Linked DNA regions of Homo sapiens: region 1 is linked to region 2. The links are contacts of gene promoters, found by promoter capture Hi-C in blood cells and fetal thymus (Javierre and others, 2016). All regions are on one chromosome and are shown on one strand. The core of a region is centred on a gene start or on the middle of the fragment in contact, and the rest is flanking DNA. Distances in the headings are between cores, read along the strand shown. Region 1 overlaps LOC105373883 (a long non-coding RNA gene). Region 2 holds the start of GLB1L (galactosidase beta 1 like).

What was found. The method cuts DNA at HindIII sites, captures the fragments that hold promoters and counts their contacts. A CHiCAGO score of 5 or more calls a contact.
Region 1: a fragment that was not itself captured here is called in contact with the fragment with the promoter of GLB1L in region 2 in 2 of 17 cell types (M1 macrophages and M2 macrophages); the score reaches 7.2 in M1 macrophages.

The regions. Positions count from the first base shown.
Region 1 is chr2:219,360,885-219,365,851 of GRCh38, forward strand. LOC105373883 (a long non-coding RNA gene) reads right to left here. Exons shown (of 2, transcript XR_923917.3): 2 at 1,618-1,924. Among named protein-coding and RNA genes, the nearest start is that of DNPEP, 25 kb to the right of the region's middle. RefSeq lists an enhancer at 1,679-1,728. The HindIII fragment of the contact is 1,677 bases long and covers 1,615-3,291 here.
Region 2 is chr2:219,244,186-219,248,544 of GRCh38, forward strand. GLB1L (galactosidase beta 1 like) reads right to left here and starts at 1,259. Exons shown (of 17, transcript NM_001286423.2): 1 at 1,044-1,259. STK16 (serine/threonine kinase 16) reads left to right here and starts at 1,294. Exons shown (of 8, transcript NM_001330213.2): 1 at 1,294-1,611; 2 at 1,711-1,900; 3 at 2,472-2,691; 4 at 2,928-3,061; 5 at 3,230-3,350; 6 at 3,477-3,572; 7 at 4,008-4,129; 8 at 4,236-4,359. The coding sequence starts at 1,815. RefSeq lists enhancers at 975-1,557, 1,006-1,435. The HindIII fragment of the contact is 6,920 bases long and covers 1-4,359 here.

The DNA.
Region 1 (4,967 bases), core at 1,203-3,702, 120 kb after region 2:
GTTCAAGCAATTCTCTTGCCTCAGCCTCCCAAGTAGCTGGGATTGTAGGCGCCTGCCACCACACCCAGCTAATTTTTGTATTTTTATTAGAGATGAGGTTTCACCATGTTGGCCAGGCTGGTCTTGAACTCTTGACCTCAGGTGATCTACCTGCCTTGGCCTCCCAAAGTTCTAGGATTACAGATATGAGCCACCGCGGCCGATGGACTTCTTCCTTTGTTTACTTGTTTATTTGCGTCTCCCCACTGGAGTGTAAATTTCAAGAGGACAGAAGACATGTCTGTTTGATTTGCTATCACATCCTCAGTGTCTGGCTCAGGACCTAGCTCAGCCTGGATGCTCCAAAATGAAACAGATTTTGGGTCCTGAGGCCCCAGATGAAACACCTCTGCCTCAGTGCTCTTATCTGTTAGATGGGCAGCTCATCAGGGTGACTGTGAAAATGAAATGAGATGATGGATATAAAGCAGCCTCGTGTTGCACAAATGCATTGTGAGTTGAATTCTAGTTCCTTTCAGCTTCAGCCTCTCTGGGTTTGTAGATTTCGGCTATGCCCCAAGGTTTCAAGGTGAAAGACCTTGAAACCCAGAAGGGCAGAGAGGCCTGGTCTGGTAGAGAATCAGGAGCAGAATCCAGGAGACCTGCCTTACAGCTCACCAGGGGGAAGGTGTGAGACAGCCCACCTGACCCCAGGGAACAAAGGCTGCCCACCTTGATAGGGAGAGGGTGGGCCACCATGCCTGTGCCTCTTCTTGGATAGCCAGTGGGGATGGTGCTATCATTGCACTGAGGCCTGCAAGACTCAGGCCACCACCCTTTGTCGGGAAACAAGGTCTTCCCTCAAGGACAGGATCACCTCTGGTGGGAATCTCCTAGAGAAGAGGCAGCTCCTCAGGCCAGGCACGGTGGCTCACGCCTGTAATCCCAGCACTTTGGGAGGCCGAGGCGGGTAGATCACAAGGTCAGGAGTTCAAGACCAGCCTGGCCAACATGGTGAAACCCCGTCTCTACTAAAAGTACAAAAATTAGCTGGCCATGGTGGCATGTGCCTGTAGTCCCAGCTACTCTGGAGGCTGAGGCAGAAGAATTGCTTGAACCCGGGAGGCAGAGGTTGCAGTGAGCAGAGATTGTGCCACTGCATTCCAGCCTGGGTGACAGAGCAAAACTCCATCTCAAAAAAAAAAAAAAAAAGAGAGAGAAGAGGCAGCTCCTCCGAGATGGGTCAGAGCTCTATGGGGAGCCCCAGGTGGGCATCTAGATGGTGAAGAGCCCAAAGACTCTAGAAGTGGGTTCTCGGGACTTGCGCATGCGTACATGTGTTTATATGTGTATACATGTGTTTATATGTTTGTGCATGGGTGTTGTGTCCATGTGTTTATATGTGTGTGCATGTGTTTGTATGAATCAATGTGTACTGTATGCATGTGTGTTTGTGTGTGCGTATGTAGGTTTGTATGTGTGGGAGATGTATTTGTGTATGTAGATGGGATGTGTGTGTCAATGTGTATATGTGTACATGTAGTGTACTTGTATTCATTGTCTATTACTTTTTTTAAAAATCCAGTTTTAGCAAAGAATATCTATGGCTTATTGCTACATGACAAATTACCCCAAAGCTTAGTCGCTTAAACTATAAACATCTATTTCACAGTTTCTGTGGACTGGGAATCTGAGAGAGGCTTAGCTGGGTATTTTTGGTTCAGGGTCTCTCTTGAAGTTGCAGTGAAGATGTTACTCAGGGTTGGCTGTAGTCTTCTGAAGGCTTGCGTGGGGCTAGAGGATCCACTTTCAAGATGACTCACCCTCCTGGCAAGACGATGCTGGCTGTTGGCAGGAGGTCTCAGTTCCCTACCACATCAGCCTCTCCATATGGCTGCTTGAGTGCCTCATGACACAGCAGCTGGCTTCCTCTGGAGTGAGTGACCTGAGAGAGAGAGAGAACCAGGCAAAAGCCACAGTGTTTTTAAAACCTAGCTTTGGAAGTCCCATGCCATCATTTCTGCCATATTATACTGGCCACAGAGACCAACCCTGATACACTGTGGGAGGGACTACACAAAGGCATGAATTCCAAGAGGTAAGGATCACTGGAGGTCATCTTGTAGGATGGCTATCACATGCAGTATGTGCGTGTGGGTATGTGGGGTGTGTGTTTGTGGGTGTGTACATAAAGATGTGTGTGTTTGTGTATATATGTGTATGTTTTTGCATATGTATATATGGATATATAGCAATATGTTTGTGTGACATGTATCTATGTATTGTCTGCATATGTGTATGCATGCATTTATGTATATGTATCTGTGTATTGCACATGTGTGTTTTTTGCGCACGAGTATGCATGCATGTATTATGCCTACATGCATGTCTCTGTGTTTGTATGTTGTGCATGTGTGCATATATGTGTATGCCTTTTTGTATGTATTTGTAGTATGTGAATGAGCATATGTATGCATGTGTGATGGGTTTGTATATGTATCCAGGTGTATATGTGTGTCTATGCCTGTGGCTGTATATGTTTGCAAACATTGTATGTGCATGTGCACCTGTGTTGTGTGTGTGCATGTATGCTTACATGTGTGTGTTTCTGTATAGATGTCCATGTGTAAGTCCGCATGTGTCTGTTTATGTGTGTGTAGGTGTATATATGTTACGTTTATGTATGTGTGTGAGGTGTATGTGTGTAGGTTTGAGAATATGTGTGTGCATTACTATGTACATATTGCACTTGTATATATAAATGTGTGCTGGCACATGCATACAAACTTAGGAATGTCACCTGCTGTGGGAGGAAAGCCTGGAGTCAGGAGTGGGGAGACTCAGGGAGGAGTCCCTATTATTCCTGGGGTAGCCCATGAGTGGAAGGCTCTGGAGCCTGGAGAGCAGGCTCTCCCTTGCATTTAGGATATGTGGATCCATGGTCCTCTGCATCTGGCTTTCCTTTGTCAAGGCTTTCTGTTGTTGTTCATTTTTGTTTGAACATTTCAGTCTTTCCTAAGCTGTCAAATAAAGCAGCAGAGAAAGGGTGGTCTCTATTGCCTGGAAGTTGAGAGTTCAGTGTAGACTAGTGCCCCTTTGGGGCTGGCCTGGGGAAAACAAGGGGATTTCCCTGGAGAGCACGGCTGACCCTCCCTCTCATCTCTTCTCGCCTAGGGCCACTCTGGGAGCTTCTGGAGTTTATTGGGCAAGAAGGGAGGGCATTTCTTTACTTCTAATAATCCAGTCATCTTAGGAGCCACTCTTTTCCTCTTTCCATTTAGAATATTTCTGACACCAACTTTTGTGTTTAGAAGCTTTTATGCTTTTTTTTAAAAAAAGTATTTTTACCTTTTGATTATGAAAGGTAATACATATGAACAGAAGTAGACAGAATGTAAAGATACAGCTCAACAGATTTTCAGAGTGAATAGCCATTTATACTATCCAATAAGAGGGTTCAGGACATGCCACCCAGAAACATGGCACACTGGCATGTTGAATATTTTAAGCTGGAAGGATCTGAGAAACAGCATGTGCAGGACAATCTCTCTGACTTCCCTGATCCTTCTCTCCTGAAGGGATCTCCCTGATCCTTTCCCCATGTGAAAGGTGTCCTTCCTCCAAAGATGGGGACACAGACAGGAATCTGAACACATGGGCCTTGTTAAGTCTTTTGGGTAAATAAAATTAGTTTTAAGATTGTTGGCAGGCTGGGCGCAGTGGCTCACACCCCTAATCCCAGTGCTTTGGGAGGCTGAGACAGGAGCATTACTTGCGCCCAGGAGTTTGAAACCAGCTTGGACAACATACTGAGACTTGGTCTTTACAAAAAGTTTAAAAAGTAGGCCGGGCTTAGGGGCTCACGCCTGTAATCCCCGCACTTTGGGAGGCCGAGGTGGGTGGATCACTTGAGGTCAGGAGTTCAAGATAAGCCTGGCCAACATGGTGAAACCCCGCCTCTACTAAAAATACAAAAAATTAGACTGGCGTGGTGGCAGGCGCCTGTAATCCCAGCTAGTTGGGAGGCTGAGGCAGGTGAATCCCTTGAGCTTAGAAGTTCAAGGCTGCAGTGAGCTGTGTTCACACCACTGCAATCCAGTCTGGGCAGCAGAGTGAGACCTTGTTTATATAGATTAAAAAAAAAAAAAGCCAGGTACAGTGGCTCACGCCTGTAATCCTAGCACTTTGGGAGGCCGAGGCAGGTTGATCACAAGGTCAGGAGTTCAAGACCAGCCTGACCAACATGGTGAAACTCCGCCTCTACTAAAAATACAAAAATTAGCTGGGCGTGGTGGTACACACCTGTAATCCCAGCTACTCAGGAGGCTGAGGCAGGAGAATCACTTGAACTCAGGAGGCGGAGGTTGCAGTAAGCCAAGATGGCTCCATTCCATTGCACTCCAGCCTGGGTGACAGAGCCAGGCTCTGTAAAAAAAAAAAAAAAAAAAAAAAAAAAAAAAAAAAAAAATTGTTGATAAAATAAAAGCAGAAATGTCTTTGGAGTTGTCAGCATTAAATAGAATGCAGAACTACAATTTTATTTTACCTGGGTTTACTGGTCAAACAATGTTATATCAACTAGATGTTTAAGGTTATAAAACTATAAATCTAAACTAAGAATAAAATATACAATAAAAATAAATTGCTTGATGCATATCAAGCATAGCAGTTTTTAAAAAAAGACAGAGAAGAACCATATATTTAAATTTTTAGGTTTTTTGCTTCTGTTATTTTTTTTTAAACAGGGTTTAGCTTTGTTGCCCAGGCTGGAGTACAATGGCATGATTATGGCTCATTGCAGCCTCAACCTCCCAGGCTCGAGCAATTCTTACCACCTCAGCCTCCCAAGTAGCTAAAACTTCAGGAGAATGCCACCATGGACAGACAATTTTTGTATAGATGGGGTTTGGCCATGTTGCCTAAGCTGGTCTCGAACTCCTGGGCTCAAGGGATCTGTCCACTTCGGCATGCCAAAGTGCTGGGATTAT
Region 2 (4,359 bases), core at 9-2,508:
TCCTACCTCAGACCTATAGAATCAGAATTTGTATTTTAACAAGATTCCCAGGTGATCCTAGGCACCTTCAAAATTGAGAAGCATGGCTTTACTTGACTGGGCTCCCTGAGGACAGGGAGTGCCCTGTTCATCTCAAATCCTCAGCCTCTAGCACAGGGCCGGGTATATAGTAGGTTAAATCTGGATGAATCAATGTCATAACCAAAAGGCTAAAACAGGTTCAGAACCAGGGGAAACCATTGGAAAATCTTCAGGGTGATCCGGGGTGTGGAAGGGAGGAACCAGGTCACAAGAAGGACCTCTTTCCTGGAGAGTCCTGTTTCAGCAAAACAGCCATTCCCTCCTGGCCATTCCACCTTCTTTGGAAGTGCACCCCTCTCCAGCTTACCCCTGCCTGCCTCCGCAACAGATATTAAGGACAACTGCTTTGTGCCAAAGCTCGAAAATCTGTGAATTTCCGTTCCTTTTGCCTTTACAGTCTCAAGAATGGGATGTGAAGATCAGGGTAATAATAATTACGGTTTATTGACACGTACTGAAGGCTATGTGTCAGATATTGTATTAAACACTGTACATCTCATTTAATCTTCAACTCCATGAGGTAGATAATTATTTCCATTTTACAGAGGAGGAGAGGAAAGGACAGAAACATTAAGTAGCCTGTCCAAGGTCACACAACTACGTTAACGGAGCTGTCATTTGAACTAGTCAGTCTGGCCTCACAGTTAAGCTACTTAACCTTATGTACTATTATACCTATTTTACAGCTACCAAAAGTAAGGATCCGAGAGGTTAAGTAACTTGCCCGAGGTTACACAGCTAGCATGCTATTAACACTCAATTTAGAAACTGGAAGTCTGGTTCACAAGCCTGAGCTCTTAACCACTGAGACTAGGGGTAGTGGGATACAGGCCAGAGCCCAGAAGGTTGTACGGGATCAGGAGACCAGGCCACCAGACCCGCCCCTCACTGGATCCCCCTCCAGGCTGCAGTGTAGTTGGCCGCTTTCTGCCCCAGAGCGCCAGAGGTATGAAGCCTCCTACCTCCAACATTGGGAGATGGAGGTCCTGGGGGCCTCGGGCCGAGCCCGGCTTTGCTCCCCTTTGGCGTAGGTGCCTGCGTCTTGACCCCCACCGAAGGCCAAGTAGAGAACCCTCACCAGGGTCCTGGGACCCGTCCACCCCTACACCTAGCTAGCCCGGAGCCTCTCAGCTCCGCGTCCCCACATCCTCCGGATGCCCAGCGGTTGCTGAGATACCGCGGGCCGTTACGCCGGCGCGGACTGATGATGTCAGCACTGCTTCCGGTCGGTGGCGCTTCTCTCTGGCCCGAGCCAGGTCAGTCCGGCAGTGCAGATGGCCCATCCCGGGCTCTGGGCTCCTAGACCGGGGTGGGCCCTGCCAGGAGTGGGCCTGAGCCTCGCACGTCCTCTGAAACTACGCTATGCTCTGCTTTTGCGGCGCGATGGGCGTGGGAGCGGGGGCTGCCCAAAGATGGGCTGGGGTTGGAGGAAGTGGCCCGGTAGCCGCTGTGTGTCCTGAGGCCGTAAGGCGCCTGACCCCACCCCTGAAGCTGGCGACGGAGCAGGGCCTGTTTTCTCTACACTATAGTGTAGGTTCCAGAGACCTGGGCCTGAGCTCTCCGCATTGGTACTTCATGGGTCGTCTGGATTGTGCCGGACCTGTGACCCTGCCGTTGTTTTCTTTCCAGCATGATCCGCTGGGCCCCCAGCGCATCTCCTGGAAGAGCCCACTCACCCTGGACGAGCTCTTCGGTAGCCTCAGACCGTCCTTGAAGAGGATGACTGAGACATTATGGGCCACGCGCTGTGTGTCTGCTCTCGGGGAACTGTCATCATTGACAATAAGCGCTACCTCTTCATCCAGAAACTGGGGGAGGGGTGAGTGTTTGGAAGTCAGTTAACTAGTCCTCAAGTTTATGATCATTGAAGGACAGCGGTGTGCATATGCTTGGGGCACAAGGGTTTTATCCCTATCCCTGTCCTCTCTCACCTGACAGAACCTAGCTACACAGTATCAAGAAGGTGGATTCTGGAGCCAGGCCTGCTAAATCCACCTCGTGTGACCTTGATAAACCATGTTTTTTTCATCAGCTTAATGGAGATGATTATTATCCCTCACTGATGGAGTTGTGAGGATTAAATGAGATAATGTGTATAAAATGTCTCACCCAATGCGGGGTTGACAAGTACTTGATAAGTGTTGGCTATTATTTATTTAGCATCTGTCAAGTGCAGAGGTCTCTATTACGACCATAGGACCTCAAAGATTTCTATATCTCTGCTCCTGAGGAGCTCACGGTGTAATATTCTTCAGATTTCTCTTAGAGCCACATCTTGGGAAGGTTTCTGCTAAATGGGAAGGACACCCCACTCCCCACCAGGAAATTTCTCTAGGTCCAAGCCATGTGGGAGATGACCATGGCCCTTTATTGACCCCTTTGGCCCACAGTGGGTTCAGCTATGTGGACCTAGTGGAAGGGTTACATGATGGACACTTCTACGCCCTGAAGCGAATCCTGTGTCACGAGCAGCAGGACCGGGAGGAGGCCCAGCGAGAAGCCGACATGCATCGCCTCTTCAATCACCCCAACATCCTTCGCCTCGTGGCTTACTGTCTGAGGGAACGGGGTGCTAAGCATGAGGCCTGGCTGCTGCTACCATTCTTCAAGGTCAGAAAGACTCCTGGTTATGGAGGGGGTTGCAGCAGAGCCACCTACTCAAGGGCTGTGTGAGCAGTCCAGCATGTTAGGAAGCAGGGACCATGTCCTGGGTTTGGCCACTTTAGATTTTGAGTTTGAGGTGTGTATCATGAAAGGGCTGATAGGCTTTGACATAGGGAAGGGATCAGGCCTAAGGAGCAGAGGCTCCAAAAACATCTCCAACTGTAGGGAAACTTGTGTTGCAGAGAGGTACGCTGTGGAATGAGATAGAAAGGCTGAAGGACAAAGGCAACTTCCTGACCGAGGATCAAATCCTTTGGCTGCTGCTGGGGATCTGCAGAGGCCTTGAGGCCATTCATGCCAAGGGTTATGCCCACAGGTCAGTGGGAGGACCCTGTGTGCTTGCTGGGGCCCAGAGGAAGAGCCTCACCAGGAGACATGGGAGGTCTCTGTTCTCCCAAGAAACAGCCTGTATGATTCTTTTGCTTGCTGGGATTCCAGCCTTCCTGTCCAGAGATGCTCATAGGTCACTTCTACTTCTCTACAGAGACTTGAAGCCCACCAATATATTGCTTGGAGATGAGGGGCAGCCAGTTTTAATGGACTTGGGTTCCATGAATCAAGCATGCATCCATGTGGAGGGCTCCCGCCAGGCTCTGACCCTGCAGGTAAAAGAGTCTCCAGGTTCCTTTTCTCACCTGTTCCCCATTCCCACCCCTTCTGGTGCATGTCCCAGTTTGGTCACATGACCATGACCTGTGCCCCACTTTTGAGCTCTGGGATCACTGTTCCAGGACTGGGCAGCCCAGCGGTGCACCATCTCCTACCGAGCCCCAGAGCTCTTCTCTGTGCAGAGTCACTGTGTCATCGATGAGCGGACTGATGTCTGGGTGAGGAGCATGTGGGTGGGTATCTGGGTAGGGAGGGCTGTGGCTCTGTACCCACCGTGGAGTAGAGTAGGTTGTTGGTTTCTGTTGCATGGGGCGCCAGGAACCACAATATGTCCCCATCCACTTCAACTTCCTTCCTGGGAAATGTCACTGATACTGTACCCAGTTGTACCGGATGTGGTATAATCTGTGCCCCTGAACAAGGTGAGTACAGCTCAGTGTCAGTAGTGAAGGCACTGGCTAAGCAGGGGCTAAGCTAAACAGGGGCTGCGGAGGCCTCCAGCTGACTGGCAGTTTCTCTGGACCCTGGTGGTGCCATGTGGCTGAGGTCAGCGTATTCTTTTTAGCTTATGGAGTCTCCTTTTACCACAGAAGTAAAGGGAGAGATGTCACCTCCACTGGTCCCCTTCTAGGGACTAATCAAGTTATGCTCAGTCCCTAGGCTGCGTGCTATATGCCATGATGTTTGGGGAAGGCCCTTATGACATGGTGTTCCAAAAGGGTGACAGTGTGGCCCTTGCTGTGCAGAACCAACTCAGCATCCCACAAAGCCCCAGGTGAGTGAGCAACGAATAGGGCATCAAGTGTTTCAGACTCCCCCCTGGTATTAGCTGAGTTGACAGATAGGTGTCATCCGGTCACCCTGGGCTCCTCCCTCCACAGGCATTCTTCAGCATTGCGGCAGCTCCTGAACTCGATGATGACCGTGGACCCGCATCAGCGTCCTCACATTCCTCTCCTCCTCAGTCAGCTGGAGGCGCTTCAGCCCCCAGCTCCTGGCCAACAT